4 separate regions of the Homo sapiens genome follow, and all the other regions are linked to region 3. The links are contacts of gene promoters, found by promoter capture Hi-C in blood cells and fetal thymus (Javierre and others, 2016). All regions are on one chromosome and are shown on one strand. Each heading gives the region's core, a stretch centred on a gene start or on the middle of the fragment in contact. The rest is flanking DNA. Distances are from core to core; before and after follow the strand shown. Region 1 overlaps PDYN-AS1 (PDYN antisense RNA 1). Region 2 has its middle 53 kb from the start of SIRPA. Region 3 holds the start of TGM3 (transglutaminase 3). Region 4 has its middle 89 kb from the start of SIRPA.

Evidence for each region. The method cuts DNA at HindIII sites, captures the fragments that hold promoters and counts their contacts. A CHiCAGO score of 5 or more calls a contact.
Region 1: a contact is called between a fragment that was not itself captured here and the fragment with the promoter of TGM3 in region 3, in 1 of 17 cell types (M1 macrophages). The highest score is 5.1, in M1 macrophages.
Region 2: a contact is called between a fragment that was not itself captured here and the fragment with the promoter of TGM3 in region 3, in 2 of 17 cell types (neutrophils and monocytes). The highest score is 6.4, in neutrophils.
Region 4: a fragment that was not itself captured here is called in contact with the fragment with the promoter of TGM3 in region 3 in 1 of 17 cell types (neutrophils); the score reaches 6.5 in neutrophils.

What each region holds. Positions count from the first base shown.
Region 1 is chr20:1,952,827-1,958,084 of GRCh38, forward strand. All of the region lies in intron 2 of PDYN-AS1 (PDYN antisense RNA 1), which reads left to right. Among named protein-coding and RNA genes, the nearest start is that of PDYN-AS1, 8.2 kb to the left of the region's middle. RefSeq lists an enhancer at 1,687-1,776. The HindIII fragment of the contact is 815 bases long and covers 2,536-3,350 here.
Region 2 is chr20:1,840,454-1,845,163 of GRCh38, forward strand. No RefSeq gene overlaps it. Among named protein-coding and RNA genes, the nearest start is that of SIRPA, 53 kb to the right of the region's middle. The HindIII fragment of the contact is 3,567 bases long and covers 761-4,327 here.
Region 3 is chr20:2,293,830-2,298,467 of GRCh38, forward strand. TGM3 (transglutaminase 3) reads left to right here and starts at 2,172. Exons shown (of 13, transcript NM_003245.4): 1 at 2,172-2,241. The coding sequence starts at 2,235. LOC105372503 (a long non-coding RNA gene) reads right to left here. Exons shown (of 3, transcript XR_937203.3): 2 at 3,363-3,461; 3 at 1,992-2,665. RefSeq lists enhancers at 2,876-3,409, 3,410-3,942. The HindIII fragment of the contact is 7,559 bases long and covers 1-2,522 here.
Region 4 is chr20:1,803,765-1,808,634 of GRCh38, forward strand. No RefSeq gene overlaps it. Among named protein-coding and RNA genes, the nearest start is that of SIRPA, 89 kb to the right of the region's middle. The HindIII fragment of the contact is 3,012 bases long and covers 1,196-4,207 here.

The DNA of each region.
Region 1 (5,258 bases), core at 1,693-4,192, 340 kb before region 3:
AATGGAGACGATGATACCTACCCCCAGGGCATGAGGAGTTAACACCTGTGCTGATGCCTGCTACCTGGTAGACACCTGATACCAAGGCCGCTGTGATTAATTTACTCTTTCCACAGCAGCTGTTGTTACACTGTTTCATTTTCAGTTTACATGCTCTTCACCCCACAGCCTGGGAGCCCTCAAAGATGGGGACTCGTTCCAAGTCAGCTCAGGCTCCCATGGTCAAGTCTACACCAAAAACCAGGGAGGCACTCAAATATGAGAGGGGGATGGAGGGAGGGAGGGAGGAAGGAAAGGAAGGAAGGAAGGAAGGAAGGAAGGAAGGAAGGAAGGAAGGAAGGAAGGAAGGAAGGAAAAGAAGAAGGAAGGGAGGGAGGGAGAGAGAGAAGGAGGAAGGAATAAGAGGGGAAGGAAGGAAGGGAGGGAGGGAGGAAGGAAGGAAAAGAGAGAGGGAGGGAAGGAGGAAGGAAGGAAGAGAGGGAGGGAGGAAGGAAGGAATAAGCAATTAAATTCTTCATTCTCAGGCTCCGGGCTTATCTGACTGGTCAGAGGAATGGATCAGTAGCCCCCATTCATTCTCCTCTTTCTGGAGTCACAACTTAGGTTTGTAGCTGTCTAATTTATTATTATATGGTGCAGTGCAGGGTAATTATACACTGTGGTATAATTTGTTATAACTTGGGCTGAGGCCTATAACTGTATAATTTATTATTATACAGTACAGTGTTGAATAATACGAAGAGTATATAATTTATTTCAGGCTTACGAGCCTAACCTGTAATCCAAATGCAGCATGCAGCCTATGCAGATGAGTTAATGTTTCTACGGAAACCTCAACTTAGATATTTCTTCATCTCTAGTTCCTTTCTTTGGGCTTCTCAGAACACCTGTGTTACCAAGTTCCTGGTACTTTTTGTTTGGTGCAAGACTGACATGTTGGGTAGCCCTGGCCCAGGCTGAACCGGTCTTGCATATTGGGTCATGGGAAAGAAGGGTCCAGAGCTGTCACCCTGCCCAGTGACAGTTGTCATCACAGGGAGGCCGCAGCTTGCCAAAGGTATTACTGGCAGCAGATACAGAACCATGACCAGAACCCCCATTTCTGGGTCCCCAGGAATGAGGAGGCTTGCCGCACCTCCATCTATTTATTAGATAACTATTCTTTGCTCCGTTCTCAGCACTGGAAACACATCATGGGACCAGGCCCCTCGTGAAGCTTGCATTCTGGAGATTAAGAGCCTCCGTCTCTCTGGTCTCTTGTTTCTTAAAGTGTGGACTCTAGACCAGCATCTTCAGCATCCTCTGGGAGCTGGTTGGGAGTGCAGCATCTTAGCCGCAAGCCTCACTGAGTCTGCATTTTCTTTTTTTTTCTTTCTTTTTTTTTTTTTTTTTTTTTTTTTGAGAGGGAGTCTCGCTCTGTCGCCCAGGCTGGAGTGCAGTGGCGCGATCTCGGCTCACCGCAAGCTCCGACTCCTGGGTTCATGCCATTCTCCTGCCTCAGCCTCCCGAGTAGCTGGGACTACAGGCGCCCACCACCACGCCCGGCTGATTTTTTTGTATTTTTAGTAGAGACGGGGTTTCACCGTGGTCTCGATCTCCTGACCTCGTGATCCGCCCGCCTCGGCCTCCCAAAGTGCTGGGATCACAGGCGTGAGCCTCCGCACCCGGCCAAGTCTGCATTTTCACAAGACCCCCTGGTGATTCATTCACACTGAAGAAGAACTGCTGGAGTTGCTGTATGATTTAGGGGAACCATTTTCTTCTCTACTTCCCTTCTACCCAAAATATATACCATCTCACTGAGTATTGAAGCGGAGTTCCTTTTTTTTTTTTTTTTTTTTGAGACAGAGCCTCACTGTGTCTCCCAGGGGAGTGCAGTGGTGCAATCTCAGCTCACTGTAGTTTCCACCTCCCTGGTTCAAGCGATCCTCCCACCTCAGCCTTCCAAGTAGCTGGGATTACAAGCCTGTGCCACCACACCTGGCTAAATTTTGTATTTTTAATAGAGATGGGGTTTCACCATGTTGGCCAGGCTGGTCTTGAACCCCTGACCTCAAGTGATTCACCCACCTTGGCCTCCCAAAAAGTGCTGGGATAACAGGCGTGAGCCTCTGTGCCTGGCCCCTTCTTCTTTTTTTTTTTTTTTTAAAGAACATGTATTTTTTTCTTTTACTTTGGATGCAGAAGTTCATTATGTACCTTTTGGAATTATAAAACAAAAAAATATATATAAAAAAATCACCCAGAACCCCACCATTCAGAAGTGACACTGTTAATATTTTAATGACCAATCCATCAGACTTTTTTATACATACATATACTTTCTTTTTACAAAATTTCGAGAAAAGATGCAATAGTGTTGTATTCAGGCTCAGAAAATAATACCCCAGAATCTGGCGCTTTGACGTGCTGAACTGAAGAAGCGGTTTCAAGGTCTCTTTCTGACCTTGCCCTGCCTCCCTGTCTCTCTGATCCTCTTACTTTCCCAAAGCACCAGGAGGGGCTGTCGCTGGAATTTTCTTATCTGCCTAAGAAAGCTTCTTTCCAAGAGAAATGCAATTTCTTAAAACTCCCCGTCCCTAGGAATCTCATCAAATAACCAGGAAAGATTAACCACTGGAAAAGAGACTAGATGTAGTCACCGTGCTCAGACAGACTTTCATTTGTTTTTCTGAGAGCAGCTCCTAGAGATCACCTGGGACGCTTCATCTGCATAGTAAGACAATCTTTGTTTACAGTGAAGGTCTGCCCCTTACCTTCCCGCCACCTCCCCCAGAGCTCAGAAGAATTTTGTCTCAGGCAGTTGTTCTTTAGGATCACTCATTTCCCCTAAAAAGTCACTTACTCCTATACCTCCCATTTCCCCTTCCCCGATGAAGAAGGGCATATAAGGGTTATTGGGTAATCATTCTCCTATAATTCCCCTGTGTTACTCACATTAAATAATTTATTTTATTATTATTATTATTTTTTGAGAGGCAAGATGTTCTTCTGTTGCCTGGGCTGGAGTGCAGTGGCACAATCATAGCTCAACTGCAGCCTCAAACTCCTGGGTTCAAGTGATCCTCCTGCCTCTGATTACCAAGTAGCTGGGACTGTGGACACATATCACCATGCCTGGCTAATTTTTTAAAAAAATTTTTTGTAGAGACAGGATCTTGTTTTGTTACCCAGGGTAGTCTCAAACTTCCGGCTTCAAGTGATCCTCTCACCATGGCCTCCCAAAGTGTGGAATTACAGGCATGAGCCACCATGCCTGGCCTTGTTAAATACAATTTCATATGCCTTTTTCTTTTACTAATCTGTCTATTATAGTTCGTTTTCAGCAAACCTTAAGAGGACAGAGGAGAAGCTTCCCTTCGGCCCTTACAATTGCACAGTGGCTCTCAAAACTGAGCATACATTCACCTGGAAGGGTTGCTCAAACATAGATTGCTGGGCCCCACCCCCAGAGCTTTTGATCAGGAGGTCTGGGACCAGGCCTGGGATTTGGCACTTCTAACAAGTTCCAGGTGATGTGGGGCTGCTGGTCCAGGGACCACACCTTGGGAAGCACTGGACTCAGTGTTCTAAGATTTCCTGAGCACCAGTAGTTGGAATCCAGCTCTGCCACCCACTACCTGCCCACAGGGAAGTTAGGCTGCCTCTCCATGATGCAACTTCTGAGTCCACAAGGACAGTACCTGCCTCATAAGATTATTATTATTATAAGGATTATATGAGTTAATTAGTAAAGCACACAAGAAGTATTAATTATGATGAATATGCATATAATTGTTTAATCAAGATTTCTTAACAATTGTTCAAAAACATTTTTCAAGTCATTATTCTTCAATGTATTTGCTTTCAAAGGCTGTGGGCTTATCCTTCATAGTGATGTATTTATCTAGTCCACAGTCTTCAACTAAACAGTGCTGCAATGAGCATTCTCATGGATAAATCACAGTGCACCTGTCTGCTTATTTCCTTAGGATATAATGTGCTAAATGTGAAATTGCTGAGAAAAATTACATGAGCATATTTAAAACTTTTGATATGTTTTGCTAAATGGCCTTCCAGAAAAATTATACTGATTTATAATGCTACCAGCAGTATATGAGGTCATCTTTTCCTTATATTCTTATTAATATCCCATGTTATTGGTTTTTTAAAATTATGCCAATACTTTGTTTGTTAATTTGAATTTCTTTGATGACTACTGAAGTTGGATGTCCCAGCTTCAATATCTCAGGACTTTAAATATTTTTTAAAATCCCTCAAAGCTTGTGTTTACAGAATGTTAACCAGCCCTTTTCTCCTCAATGAATGAACTCTGTGTCTTGGCAGGTCTCTTGTAGTAGCAGAGGCATCATCTCACAGGTAGCAGCTGCTTGATTTAAATCCCACCTGTGCTGCTGGTAACATACCTCCCATTTAATAGATGGGTGTGGACTAGAGGAGGATGAAACATTAAGAGAGCAAACAGAAGGAGAGAAGTTATTTGTTCCACAAAAATTCTCTCAACATCTCTTACAGGTCAGGCCCTCTGCTAAACTTAGAGGATGCAAAGACAAGGAAGTCTCAAAGTGCAGGGTGGTGGGGTGGGAGAATACACACAAAATAATGTGAAATATAACAGTGCAAATGAAAACAATGGGGTAGGAATCTAATGAAGGAAATGATGGTATCTTTGAAGTCAGAGAGGACCTGGGTTCAAATCCTGTTTCTTTCAACTCCTAGCTTTGGACAGTAATATGCAAAGACTATTTTTAGGCTTAAACTAGTTAAAATGACAGGTAAAAAATACCTGGAAACAAGTAAAGTTTCCTGTTTCCAGGATTCTCACAATTGCAGCCCAAGGGCCAAATATGGCATATAGAAGGTCTTGTTTGGTGCATCCAGTATTTTTGAAAAAAAAATTTAGTAGAGGAATTAGGATGGCTTAGACCAATAGATCCTGGTTGCCCAACTTAAACCCCTGGAAATATATTTGTTCCTCTAGAAGAGATCTGGGTTCATTCACTGACTTCTCCTTCTGGTCAAGGTGGAATAACAGAGAATGGGTTTATCCTCTTAGCTGAAACAAAAAAATCTGGGGAAAACATATGAATCAACAGTTTTCAAGACATTGGACATCAGGCAACACAGAACCGTGATCCCTGAGAGAGAGAAAACAAAAGAGAGCCTAGCAATTGCCTCTGCTTACTATCTGGAGAGAGTTTTCAGGCCACGGCACAGGACAGGGAGTCCAGGTAGGGCCCGGGGGTCTTCCTGAGTTG
Region 2 (4,710 bases), core at 1,294-3,793, 450 kb before region 3:
GTAGCTCACTTTGGCTGCTGGCAGGAAACTGCCTGGATGGGGCAAAACAGGACATCGGGAGCCTAGCATTGGGGGCTGTCACAGCATCCAGGGGAAGGGTGGCTGCAGGCTGGACCAGGGTGATGGCAATGGCCATGGATGGTCCTTGAAATTGTGCATTCAGCACATCTTTACTGAGCTCCTATTCTGTGCCAGCCATTGGGGATGCAGAAGCCAACAAGAGAGAAATTCCTGCCTTCACAGGGCATGCAATCTAGAGGAAAGAGAATGGTAACTGAATATAATATATGCCAGTGGTAAGTGACGACAAGTGCTGTGGAAAAAATCAAAGCAGGGAAGGGTGTGGAGATCTGCCAGGGAGGAGTGGGGCAATTTGTAGTTTTAAACAGGAGAGTCGGGAAAAGTCTCATTGAAAAGGCCACATTTTAGTGAAGATGTAAAGGAGGCATGAGATAGAATCTGGGACAGAGAGTTCCAGGCAGAGGAAACAGTGAGTGCAAAGGCCCGGAGGCAGGCCCACTCCTGGTTTGTTTGAAGAAAGCAAGGAGGTCCCTGTGGCTGAGCTGACTAAGCTGGTGGGGGCGGGACAGATCATGCAGGGAAGGAAGGGAAGGAGGAAGGGGCTGAATGGGCAGAAGAGACTGGGACCTGGATGCCTATAGGAGGGAGGGAAACCAGCGAGACAGGGCCTGGCCCCTTCTCCATCCTGCTCCCCCGACCCAAGGAAGCAGCATCTCCCATTCCTCCTTTCATCCCACAAAGCTTCATCAGCCAAAAAGTGAAAGTTTAAAAAGGGAGGAACTGATCCCAGGAGAGGCAGGGCCCTGAGATTTGCCTGAACCCAGGTCAGACCCCAGCCCGGGTGGGGTGTGACTTCCTGTGGCTCTGATGGAATTCTCACTGTCCTCCTCAGGATGCATTCCTGGGCCTGAGGCACAGAAAGAGGACACACAGCCAATAGCAGCCAGTTTCAGGGCTCCTAAGCCTGCTGGGAGACACCCCCAGCCTCAGGCAGTGCTGTCGGGGTGGGCTACCTAAGCTGCAGGTGAGAAGAATGGTGGCTAATTAGGGTGCTGCCTCCTTCTCACTCTCCAGGTCCCAGGGATACCCTGAGTTGGATTTCAGGCTCATTAATGTCTTGGCAGAGAGGCTCTGGCTGTGAGCTCTCTCCAGCTGCCCAGCCTTGCCTGGCAGGAGTAGGGAATAGAAGGGAGACTCACAGGGGAGTCATCTACCCCCAGAGTCAGTCCCAAGGCAGGCCCAGGGTTGAAGGACGTCCTAGAGGACGTCCTAGAGCCCAGTGACATTGGCTGAGACACTCTCCCTCCCTGAGCCCCTTTGTCCCTGTCTCTCCAAGGGGATCATAGGCCTTTTCCCACCTGACTTCCAGAGCTGGGATGAACCCAAATAAAGGATGAAAGTGAAAGTGCCCTGAATCATTAAAGAGACAGGCAGAACTCCCTGTGCCACCCTGGAGGGATCTGCAGGATGGGTTGTTACGTAAGACAAGGCGCCTTGCAACAACTGCTGCCTGGCTGGCCTCCCAGCTTCTGCCCTTCCGTGGTGGCTGTTCTCCCCTGGTAGCCCCTGGATTCTGTTACATAAAATACCAGGTCAAAGAATTCCCATGGGACCCAGCAATTCCACATCTGGCTCTATACCCAAAAGAACTGAAAGCAGCGTCTCAAATAAGTATCCGCACACCCATCTTCATAGCAGCATCATTCACAATAGCCGAAAGGAGGACGCAACCCAAGTGTCCACTGGCAGATGAATAAATGGATAAGCAAAGTGTGGTATATACATATAATGGAATATTATTCAGCCTTAAAAAGGAAAGAAATTTTGTCACACGGTACAGCATGGATGAAACTCAAGGATATTATGCTAAGGGAAATAAGCCAGACACAAAAAGATAAATACTGCATGATTCCACTTATATGATTCATCTTGAGTAGTCAAATCCATAGCAACGCAAAGTAGAATGGGGCTGGGGGACGGGGGAATTCGTGTTGAATGGGTGCAGTTTCGGTTTTGAAAGATAAAACAGCTCTGCATGCGGATGATGGTAACGATTGCACAGTGATATGAATGTGCTTAATGCCACTGAGCTGTACACTTAAAAATAGTTAAAATGGCCAGTTTTATGCTGTGTATATTCTACCACAATAAAAAAAATTGCACCAAAAAACCCCAATGAAACCAATCCTAGCTCAGTCCTCTCCTCTGCTCCATCTTCCTGAGGCTCTGGTTGTATGCCCCAACCTGCATTCCCCATGCCACCCCATATGTTCTGCACTGCGCCTCCCTGACCCATCTCCTGCCCCTCCCCTCGCTCACTTTGCTCCAGCCCTGCTGGCTTGTTCACTCGTTCTCCAACCCACTAATTTCATGCCATGCTTGGGGCCTTGGCACCCAATGTCCTCTCTACCAAGAATCTGTCCTGGATATCTGCAGGGCTTGTTCCTCCCCATCCTCCAAGCTCAAGTCAAATGTCTCCTCAGAGGAGACATTTCCTTGACCCCCTGGACTGAAAGCACCCCCCCACAACCCCACTCCTATCCTCCTCTATCCCTTTACCTAAATGTATGTCTTTCATAACATGTATTAATATCACTACCTGGAAGAATACTTTAGCTTTGTCTGCTGGCTACTCTGTTAGAGTGTCAGCTCTGGAGGGTAGGAATCTCACTTTTTCATGCCTCACAACAATGCCTGGCACATAGTAGGTGCTCAATGAATAGTTATCAAATAAATGGAGAATGATCTTATTGATGTATGATGCATACCTATGACACACATGTTATATCTGTGCAGATGTAAATATATGGGAAAGGCCTGGAAACATGTCCACCAACATACAGTGGTGAACCGGGGAGGAGGGTGGGCAAAGAGGATGGGGGAGTGGCTGTCAAGGGGCCCTTTCAGGGTTCACTGAGTTCACTCAGCTGCTGCATGCAACTCTTACCATGCAGATCATAGGTATGTGAGTTTTAAAAAAGAGCTCTGAGGTGATGCTATGTCCCATGTAGCGTCTATGAGTGATTCTCCCCAGCCTCCCAACTACCCTGCAAGGGCGTTGTTACTCCTACCCTTCTATGAAGCGAAGCGCATTCTGCATTCCCCAGAGTCACCGAGCTCCTGCTACACACCAGGCATGGTTCTGGGCTCGGGAGACACCAGAGTGAAGAAGCAATCCTGCTCTCATGGAGCTTACACTTCAGTGGGGCAGATGAACAATAAATAAATAATTAAAACAAGTCTGTTGGGGCAGGGAACAGAATGGAGAAGTGTACAGAGTGAAGGGGCGAGAGTAGAGAGAGCAAGGGAGGTGAGTGGAGGTTTGCAATTTAACAGCGACACCAGGAAAGCCCTCACTGGGAAGGTGACATTTAAGACCTAAAGGAGGTGAAGGGGTGCTCTGATTTTACTGTGTCCCCTAAAGCTCATGTGTTGGAAACATAATCCTCAATGCAACAGTGTTAAGAGGGGCACTTTAAAGACATGATCAGGTCATGAGGACTCTGCCTTCATGAATGAATTGACGCTGTTATCACAGGAGTGGGTTACTGACAGAGTGGGTTCCTAGGCCAGGCGTGGTGGCTCACATCTGTAATTTCAGCACTTTGGGAAGCTGAGGCAGGCGGATCACCTGAGGTCAGGAGTTTAAGACCAGCCTGGCCAAACATGGCAAAATTCTGTCTCTACTAAAAATACAAAAATTAGCTGGATGTGGTGTCAGGTGCCTATAATCCCAGGAGGCTGAGGCAGAAGAATCACTTGAACCTGGAAAGTGGAGGTTGCAGTGAGCGAGATTGCACCACTGCATTCCAGCCTGGGCGGCCGAGTGAGACTCTATCTCCAAAAAAAAAAAAGACAAGAAAAGAAAAGAAAGAGAGAGTGCATTCCTAATAAAAGGATGAGTATGACTCCCTTCTTCTCTCTCTTTCTTTCCCAACCCCTTTGTCCTTCCACCTTCTGCCATGGGATGATGGAGCAAGAAGGCCCTTACCAGATGCAGCCCCCCTGGATTTTGGACTTCCCAGCCTCCAACCCATGAGCCAAAGAAAATTTCCATTCTTTATAAATTACCCATTCTGTGGTATAGTGCTATAGCAACACAAAACGTACTTAGCCAGGGATTTATCCAGGCAAAGGCAAGTGCAAAGTCCCTGAGGTGGGCACATCCCTGGTGTACAGGAGCAATGGCCACCGTGGCTAGGACACGTTCTAGGGGGAGAGTGGTGGGCTTGGAATGGTGAAATCCCTTGCCTCACAAGTAGGGCAGCTGAGAGCAATATCTTGGGCCTGTCTGACTGTAAAGTGAAGCTTTTAACTGCAAAGGGCCTGACACTCTTTCTAGTGAGGAAAGCCAGAAAGGGTGAGCGTATGTTATTACCAGGCATTGCGCCAAACACGTTGGGGAATCACATGGGGGAAGCCCCCACCCTTCTGGGGCTGCTGCTGCCGTAGAGAGGAAGGGAAACTGAGAAGTCAGCTAAGAGCCTGAGCAGATACTATAAGAATCCATCGTGATTGCTGTTTTCCGTTTCTCTGTGTGTTGGTTGTGGAAGGAGTCTTAGCACGTGTACACACAGCATGTGCATTCCTACCTCTGAGTGTGTCTGCCTGAGTGTTTATGGCTGCATAGGGGTCTTGAGTCTGCTGCCCACAAGTTAAACAGTGGTTTACTTAGCCCTCCCCAACTGT
Region 3 (4,638 bases), core at 922-3,421:
CTACGAGAGGTGAGGAGACTTGGCAGAGCCAAGACTGTGTGTCTTCAGGTTCCCTTTTAAGGGGAGCACCACCTCCCTGTCACCTCTGCAGCTTTCCTTGTCAGGTCATTGAAAGGAGTGCCCGGGGTCTGATTTTCCTTGGCTCCCAGGCCAACAGCAACAACCACAATAATAAGCAAAACCCCTCCTTTCCTTTAGACCACACACAGAAGCATACAGAGCACTTTCACACCCATTCATCCCATGCCATTCATGGAGCTGTCCTCCAGCTTTCTGGCAGGATGAACTTGGCGTCATGAGGCCTCGCCCAGAGTCACAGCTAGTGCCCGTGGTAGGAGCCAAGACCACACATGAGTCTCCTCTTGGGTCCAGGCTCTTTCCATGTCCCTCTCTACCCTCTGCTCTTTTCTTAGTCATCTGCCAGAGCCAACAGTGCATCCCATTCTGCCTGGCATGGGTGCACAGCCAGCTGTCTTAGAGCCCCAGAGGCCTGGGAAAGGCTGCCTCATTTAGGCGCTGACCTCCAAGGTTAAGCAAACACAGGCTCTGGAGCCATTTACATATGGGTATGAATCTCGTGGTTGGAGACTCAGGTTAATCTCTCTGTCCCCCATAAGATGGAAATAATAATAGCCCCTTTGCATAGGGTTGCTATGAAGATGAGAAAAGCTAATATATGTAAAGTGTTTAGCCAGTGCCTGCCCACAGTAAACACTAAATCAATTAGTTATTATTAGTAAGCACTAAATCGGTAGTTATGATTCCCATCTTTACAGTGATATTGATTCACTTATTCAAGAATGTGCATGTTCCAGCCACGTGTCAAGCCCTGTGCTAGATTCTGAGAAGAAGATTTGAATGATATGCAACCTGTACCTTCAAGGAGCTCAGTCTGGAGATGGGGACATATATAAACAGATAGTTCCAGTGCAGTGGATACATACGGTAATAGAGGTTCTAAGATGTACAAAAGGCTGTAGGGGCCTAAAGGACGGAGAAAGGACACTGATTTCTCTTTTTCAATTTTCCAAGCCACCTGCCTATTCCGTCTTCTCTTTCTCGAGATCAAACATTCTCACTTCTCTCTAAAGACCCAACCTTGTCATCATGGTGCTCAATCTTCCTTCCACACTGTGATGCTGGGGAAAGCCTTGGGGCATTTCTGTTCTCTCGTGAATCCTTGAAGCCTCACTTTAAAAAATATATACTCACTCCTTTGTCCATCGTAAACCTTGATATTTGTAAATATCGATAATAGGAACTTTGAAAAAACATACGCCCTTAGAAACAAGCAAGCAAACAAAAACACGTAGAATGTCAGAGCTTCTCCCCACTCCACACCCTTTCTTTAAACTGATGTCAAGGTGGGCCCAGTGAGGGTCAGTGACGGAACCTGCAGTCTGAGAAAGACATGGCAGAAGCATAAGGTTAGAGGCTGTTCCTGCTGCCTCATTAAAAACAACAATTTTCCCCCAAATCTGGACTGAAACTGACATTCAACGCCAAGTGTGATCTCAGTTTAACCTGCCCTGGTAGATATGCATACACTTCCCATGCGCACCATCTCATGTGATCGTGTCCACAGCTTTGTGAGTTGAGAGGGGTGGGAGTGATTATCCCCAACCACAAGCAAGGCTTCCGGGCTTCAAGGGTTGGAGACCACCCAGGGCTCGGCCAGCATCAGAACCAACGGCTTCTAATTCCAAATCAAATGATGGTTTATGCCACACTACAACCCTAAACAAATGAACTGTGATGTGTCTCACTTCCCTGTGCAAGTGGAAGATGCTAATACATGTGTATCATGAGAAAGGACCTCACAATTTTCTTCTTCTGGGTTCTGCTGAGACGTTTCTTTGATTCAGAGAGAACTTCCCAGGATCAGCAAGAAAAGCATGTCATCATTTCCTAAACCCTACAATCCAGGAAATAGTCCATCATTTTATAAAATTATAAAAGCGAACTATTTGAGTTTCTTTATTATCTGCCCCCTTCTCCCCAAGCTGGTCTTGTACAAACATGATGCACGTCCATTGGGTGACAAGTCTGTCGTAAGTGAAACGTTTACAGGCACTACAGGAATGACCTGGTGCCTCGCCCACTTCATTAGAATTCTAATTGGGGTGTGTAGGAGAGGATTCTATAAATGGTAAGGCAATCCTTGGCAGCCTGTCTGTCAGCACTGTCCGTGCCATTCCCAGAGGAGCCTGAGAAGAGGCAGAGGAAGGCGAAACATGGCTGGTGAGTGCATGGCATCTTCTCCATCAGGTCCTTGCCAGAAGCCTGTGCTTCCCCTGGGCCAGCCTGCCAAGCCAGAGTGTCCGGCCAGGACAGCTGCCTGCCTTGGGGGCTCTGAAGGCCAGACTTCCTATTTTAGGGTGCTAGCCAGAGGCGGCTCTTTCTCAGTGGTGGTTGGGTCCCTCTAGCATATTCTTGGGGTAGAACATCATTGGAATGTAGCTCTGAATAATGGGCAGGGTGTTCAGTGCAGCTGGACATCGCATCTCCTTAGGCAGAGGACAAGCTTTGCCTTGTTTGTGTTTGCGTTTCTTTTACACATCCGTCGCCACCCGTAAAGCCAAAGCAGACAGGACTCGGGTCTCGTGTTTCTCAGTGTAGCTGTATCCAGCTGTCAGCAGTGTCAGCAAAGAAGCACATCTCAGAACTACCAGGGAGTGAGAGTGGTAACATGTAAGTTGATTTGAAAGAAACCATTGTTTATTTCAAATCAACTTACTTAGGAGCATTAGGAATGCTCCTAAGTAAGCTACACATCAGAAGCATCAGACAGGCTCTGTGTAAGTGACTTGATGAGCTGAAGCCTCCCCGTAGCAGGAGCAGGTGTGCCACAAGATGTCCTGGTCCACAGGAGAGCACCAGGGAACAGGGGTTACAAAGAACAACAGGAAGTGCAGGTTCCCCCACTCTATGCTTACTGTCGAGGATATGGGCCTTTGTTAATCAGCACCCCTGCTAAGCAGCATGCTAATTATTATCTGTCTTGTGTGCTCAGCCTAGTAGGTTGACAGGGACGCCAAATCCAAACAAGATATGAGTCAAACTTGTAAAATATTGTGAATGGCGATTAGGGCTGCTGGAAGATTGGCCAAAGACATCACTGAGCCAAATGCAACAGGCAAATGCTGGCTACTTCAGAAGCCACAAAAACTGGGACAGGTGATTGCACATTAGGCCCCCTCCCCTGTCTCCCATTCCTTGCTGTAATGTACAGCATGGCTGGGATGCTAAGAAGAGGAGCTCTGGACCCTACACACTGCAGCAAGAGGGGAGGTCAGATGTCATCTAGCCCATCTCCCTCCCTCCAGGAGGTGGCTGAGGCCCAGGAAGGGGTGGAACCTTACACACAGTGAATCCATCGCAGAGCCAGCTAGGTCTCAGCAGTGCCCTTTCCACCATGTCCTGCTGCCAGAGCTGAGCTCCTACATAAGTGCACATAACATCTGGAACATAAAAAAGCAATTCTGAACCTGGCTTCTCATTTGAGCTTTGTGACCAACTGCTTGTGTGTTCTCTGCCACCCCTGAGCCTCAAGTTTTCAAGATGAAAGCTTTGAAATGAATGCGTTTTGAGGTTCCTTCCAGTACCGACTTTTCTTTCTCCACAAAAAGAAACCAGAGCCAGGGAGTGGACAGGCACGTGCCCAGCCCCCAGGAATGTGCACCTCCCATCCCTGTGCAGGACCTCCCGTGGACTCTCAGGAATGGCCTGCCCGCTGTGAGGCATGATTAAATGTCTCTGTTAACAACCAGAGATGTTCTAAAGTCACAACAGAATGAGGCTGGTGGGGAGAAAATCAATTTTGAAAAGGTGGTGGAGAGACAGGCGAATACATTCAGTCCCTTAAATTTGTCCCACTTGCAGTTCCCAGCTCAGCTCCGAGTCACTCAGCCAGGAAGTTCCCAATCAGTGTTTCTTGGATGAATGAATTTATTCACTGAACACCTAAGGGAGAAGAGCTGTGCCAGGTGCAGTGGGAAATATGGAGGTGAATGAGATGTGGTTCTGTCCTCGGTAGCTTTTAGTCTGATATTTTTTGGTACCACCGGTTTTTTAGGTGAGCAGCATGCAAGGCAGACTGTTATTAAGCTGCATGACAAATACAAAACAAGTGCTACGGGGACCAACAAGAGAAGGAGATTAGTCTTGTCTGGAATTTGGGATAGGGAAGACTCTGAAAAATGGTCACAGACAATGAGTTGGACTTGGTCTGGAGAGGTTTTGCAGGGCAGAGGGAACAGGAAAATAAATGTCAGTGTGAGCAGGTGTGACCCAGGGGACTATCGGGATGACAGGTGTGCTGCTTTGAGAGGACTCTGTGTCCAGCTCCTAATTTAAGGTTCTTGTTGCAATCAGAAGGGGTTCCATTATTCCACCCCTTGGTGGAGAAGGCAGCCTGGGCTGTGGCTGGAAATGAAGGTAGTGGAGGAAGGCCTGGCAGTGATCCGCACCAAGTGGCCTGGCATCCCCAGAGTGGGTGGGAGAGCAGTTTGTGAGCACAGAGGAGGGCCCCAGTGTGGAGGGGAGGCAAGATTCCCCATCCCCAAAGCCACTTGGAAGCCCTGGGTTAGTGGCAGAGTTCTCAGGGTACACACCTGAACCACAGGCTTCTGCCTGCAA
Region 4 (4,870 bases), core at 1,452-3,951, 490 kb before region 3:
CGCCGCTTTTCCGCCTTCGCTTGATTCGGCCTCAACGACTTAAACGCGCCGGGAACAAAAACGCCGGCGCCGCGGAAACCCTCAGGAGCGGCACGAGAAGCGCGGCTCCGCTGGGGTCCGCGAGAAGCGGTGCGGGCGGCCGGGCTGGTGCCTGCAGGCCCTCTCACCGCATCACCAAGGGCAAGGAACCTCCAACTGTCCCTCAGTTTCTCTACCTGCACTGGGATGTCCTACATAAGGAGTCAGCTCAGTGCCCGCATCTTGCTGTAATTATTTTGTCCAAGCACTGTGGGAGGCAGCGTTGAGGAGGCTGTTGTGGGGAGTTTGCCTGTCAGAGAGAAGAGGGAAATAAACAAGAAACATACAGACAAAATAATTTCAAATAGCAACAAGTGTTAATATCGTAGCAAACACCAATGCAGCGCTTATGCCAGGCTCTGCTCTATGCTATATGCACATTAGGTCATGTAATCCTCACTCCCTTGTACAGATAGGAAAATGCTGGTTGAATAATCTATTGAAGGGAAATAGGAAGTTGAACAATATGTGGAGAAACAGGTTGCACGATAGGTGGAGAAACAACAGGTTGCACGATATGTGGGGAACCAGGTTGAACAATAGCCTCAAGTGCGCAGTAGGTAGGCTCGGCACTTGAGAATATTGGGCCCAGCCTGGGTTTCGACCCAGCCAGTCCAGCCCCAAGTGGAAGCTTTTGCACACTCCATTACACCAGTTTTGGCTGTACTAGGAAGGATGTAAAGTGGTGACACGCCCAAGAGAGAGCTGGGGCTAGACAGGAGCTGCTCCTAAAAGGATGTCAATGGACGTCTCTGTGCAAGAGAGTAAGCTGAGGCCTGCACAGTGAGAGGAACTAGCCATGCAAAGAGCTGGGCGTGTCCAGCAGAGAAAACAGCAAGGGCAAAGGCCTTGAGGTGGGAGAGTAGATGTGGGGTTTCATGAACATAAGGATGGAACTCAGTGAGCAGTAGTAAGGAGACTGGAGATGGTCAGCAGCTGGGGGTAGCAGGCTTTGCAGGTCTCGGCAAGGAGCTGGACTTTTATTCTAGGTGTGATGGGAAGTTGTGTTGTTATGGCCACTGAAGGAGTTGCGTGGATGGAGTTGGACCAGAGGGTGGGTGCCCTTCCTGCCTTGCCAGCCTTAGGTTCAAGGAGGAAGTTGATTGCTTAGGCCTTAAGCTTGCCCCTCCTCATCTGACCTCCTGGCTTCTAGGACATTCCTGAGGACGTACACCAAGTCTCCAACATTACCTGATGTCAGATCAGGTAAGCCCTCATCTTATAGATAGGGCTAAGACTGAGGCCCTGACTTCAGGGATGTGTCTTCACCTTTGAGTAGGAGAAGCAGGGGTGGTATCTGCTTCATCTACTCATGTACCTGCAGCACCTAGCACAGGCTGACCAGCCCATCCTTGGACCCAGGCAAGCGGGGCTCTGCCCTGGCCAGCCTCCAGCTGCGTACATCCCCACAGGCTAGAGAGTCTGCAGTGCCAAGGGGATATACCCATCCAAGTCTTTGCTCCTTGTCTAGAATACTACAGATTCCTAGGATTCCTGAGCTCCCTACCTAAAAGTCCCAAGCCTGCTGCCAGGCCTCTTCCTGGTCTATTGTCTGGAGGCAGAACACTAAGCCCAGGGTGTAGCCAAGGGGCACTGCAGAGGATAGGGTGTGGATGGAGATTGGACCTGCAGCCTGGGATGTCTACACACATGCAGGTGAGGTGTGCACGGTACAGGATGGAGCTGGGGATGAGAAGGGAAGGTGGCAGTTTATAGGCTGGGAAATGAGCGACCAGGGAATGGGGCTGGCTCTCCCCAGCACCGCCACATTTCAGTGCGAGTATCTAAGAAATCCAAATCAATCCTGGCCTTTCAGGCTGCTGAGAAGTTATACTTACTGAGGAGAAGGATAGAACATTTAAGAGAAGGTATTGGTCTGATTTATAATTTTTAAATATTTAGATTTAAGGGTGAGTGGACACCAGCCTCCACCAATATCAAGAGTGTGTTTGGCCTAGACCCTAGGAGATATTCAATATTTATCAAATAGATGGATGAATCTCATTTAATTTAATCCTCACACAGACTCAACGGAGGGAAATCACATCGTCTGTGCTTTATTGATGAGGGAACTAAGGCTTGGAGAGATTTAATGACTGGCCTATTTGTCAAGTTAGAAGTTTGTCTAGCAGAGCTGAGAGCCTCAAGCCCTAACGTGTCTGATTCCAAAATCCATTGCAATTGGTTCATGACAAGTTCACTCCCATTATGACCACATTAAATATATTATAACTGTTTGAGCATGTCACTCGCTGATCTTTGGGAACATAAGCACTGTTTATATTACATGAAAAAGGCCTTCTCTTCTTCATTCTTACTCTACCCTCTCAGGCACCTTTGGGAAGTAGTAAGACAGGAGCTAATGCTCCATTTAACAAATGGAAAACTGAGGACTGAGCAATAGCCCAAGGTGTCAACGAGGCTTAAACAAATAGGGATTTTTTTTTTTTTTTTCATGTAGCAAGAAATCCGGAGGTAGCTGGGCAAGGGCTGGTATAATTTTTGCATTATTTTCAGCAAACAACTTCTGCCTCTTGGTCTCTTCTGGCTATTTATTGCTACAGCATAACAAACTGCCCCCAAACAACAACCATTGTATCGTCTACAGTTTTGTGAGTCAGAAATTTGCGCAGGGCTCAGCTGGGTGATCCTTCAGTGATCCATGGAGCGCCGACTAGAGTCACTCAGTGATCTTCAGCTGCTGATTGTGCTATGCTGGAGGATCGAGATGGTTTCACTCAGGTTCCTGGTGCTTTCGTGGGGATGGCTGGAACACTGAGCTCAGCTGGGTCCGTCTGCCTCTCCATGGAATCCCAGGGCTTCTCCAGGTGGGTGTCTCCAGCAGAGTAGTTTGACCTTTTTCATGGCAGCTCATGGCTCCCAGAGGCCATAGCAGAAACTGCCAGTCCTCCTAGAGGTTAGGCCTGGAGTGGGCGTGACATCATTTCCACCATACTCTATTGGTCAAAGAAGTCACAGGTCAGCCCAGATTTAAGTACAGGGGAAATTGACTCCTCTCAAAGGGAGGAGGATCAAAGAATCCACAGCCATCTTTAAATTATCACATGGTCCGAGCTGCTTGAGATGTAGTCATCATGTCTCAAATTCCAGAAAGTGTGGAGGACTGGTGGAGGAAGGTGTTTACCTTCCCTTTTAAGACATTTTCTGGAAGTCACACACAACATTTTCCATTGGCCAGAACTTACATGGGCATACCTAGGATATGGAAGGGAAACTGGAAACTGTAATCTTTATTGCAGGAGGCAAGCCATGTATTCTGATGAAAATTAGGGATTTTGTTGACTAAGGAAGAAGGGGAGCATGGGTATTGAGGACCAACTAAAATCTATTCCATGGTTAGGTGTTTTGTTGTTGTTGTTGTTGTTTTTGCTACCAACAGCCAAACACTGTTCCTAGCAGAGATGTTTCTATACCAGTCTTCTCCTTCCTAACACATCTTCCACTCTGTCATCAAAATAATCTTTCCTTTTTTATTATTTGTTATGTTCCTATACCGTATATCTTTTAATCATTCCTATGCCAACAGCAAGTGTCCGAATTATTTTGTGTTGTGTGAAACAGTAATGGGGTTTGCCACACACCAGGCACTGTGCCAAGCACTAAATGAACATATCTCACTTGATCTCCGCAGTATCCCACTGAGTGAGGATCACAGACGAGGAAGCAGAAACCCAGAGAGGTTAAATGACTTGCTCCGGGCCACACAGAGAGTAGGTGCAAGGCTGAGATTCAAACCCTCGACTGTCAGATTCCAGAGCTGTGCTGTGAAACCCACACATGTGAAGCTCAGGGACTGTTTATGGATGACAGCCCCGGAGCATGGGCAAGACTTGTGCCTGGTGTGTGAAGGTTACAGGTGACAAATGTGAGCCAAGAGCCTGCAGATGCTCCCTTCCCGCTGTGATCCTTCAGTAGGGAAGACTGCATCAAGCCCCAGGGCCATGCTGGCATATTTCATGAAATTAAACTGGCACCAGGAATTCATATCATTCTATTTCCTTTACACCCTGACTGAACCCCAAGTCTGGAGGAGACTTTGCAGAACTGGCTACATTGCTAAGCAGGGCACAGGCCCAGTTAAATGAGGCACCTTTCTGCTCCAGCTCCAAGCTTCTCTGTTCTGACCCCGGTCTTTCTTGCCTTTGCCTCACCCCTGTTCGAGGACATGCAGTGACTCCCTGTTCCCCTCAAGTTCAGTTTTGCCTTTCTCCAAATGCTCCTTGTAAGGACTGGGGAGAATACGGTTCCATCCTTTCGGTGAATTTCAGTTTCTGCATCTGTCAAATGGGAGGAAATAATCCCTGCTTTGCTAAGTAATTGAAATGTTGAGGACCACACAGGACAAGGAATAGGAATGGCCTTTGCAGGGCAGAGCAGGCGAGGGGCACAATCCCACTGGATCTGAGTAGTATTTAGAAGACTAGGCATTATCTCCTCGGAAGGCAGAAAGATCTGGGGTAGGGAGTGGGGTTGTGGAGGATCAGGGAGTGCCCTGCACCTTCTTGTGGGGGCTCCTGCCCACAGTCTTGCAGAGGAAGTGGCCCAGGGTGAGCATTTACATATTCTATATGCCCCGCTGGGGGGACACAGTGAGACCACCGGTTCTGAAACCAGATAAACCTGTGTTTGAGTGTCCCAGCTTCATCTCGTACTAGCTGAAGGACCTTTGGATAAGTCATATCACTTCTGCCTCCAGTTTCACAGCTATAAGTTGGGGCTGAAAAAAGAACCTGTCTCATTGGGATTTTATAAGGAATCAAATGAGAATGTG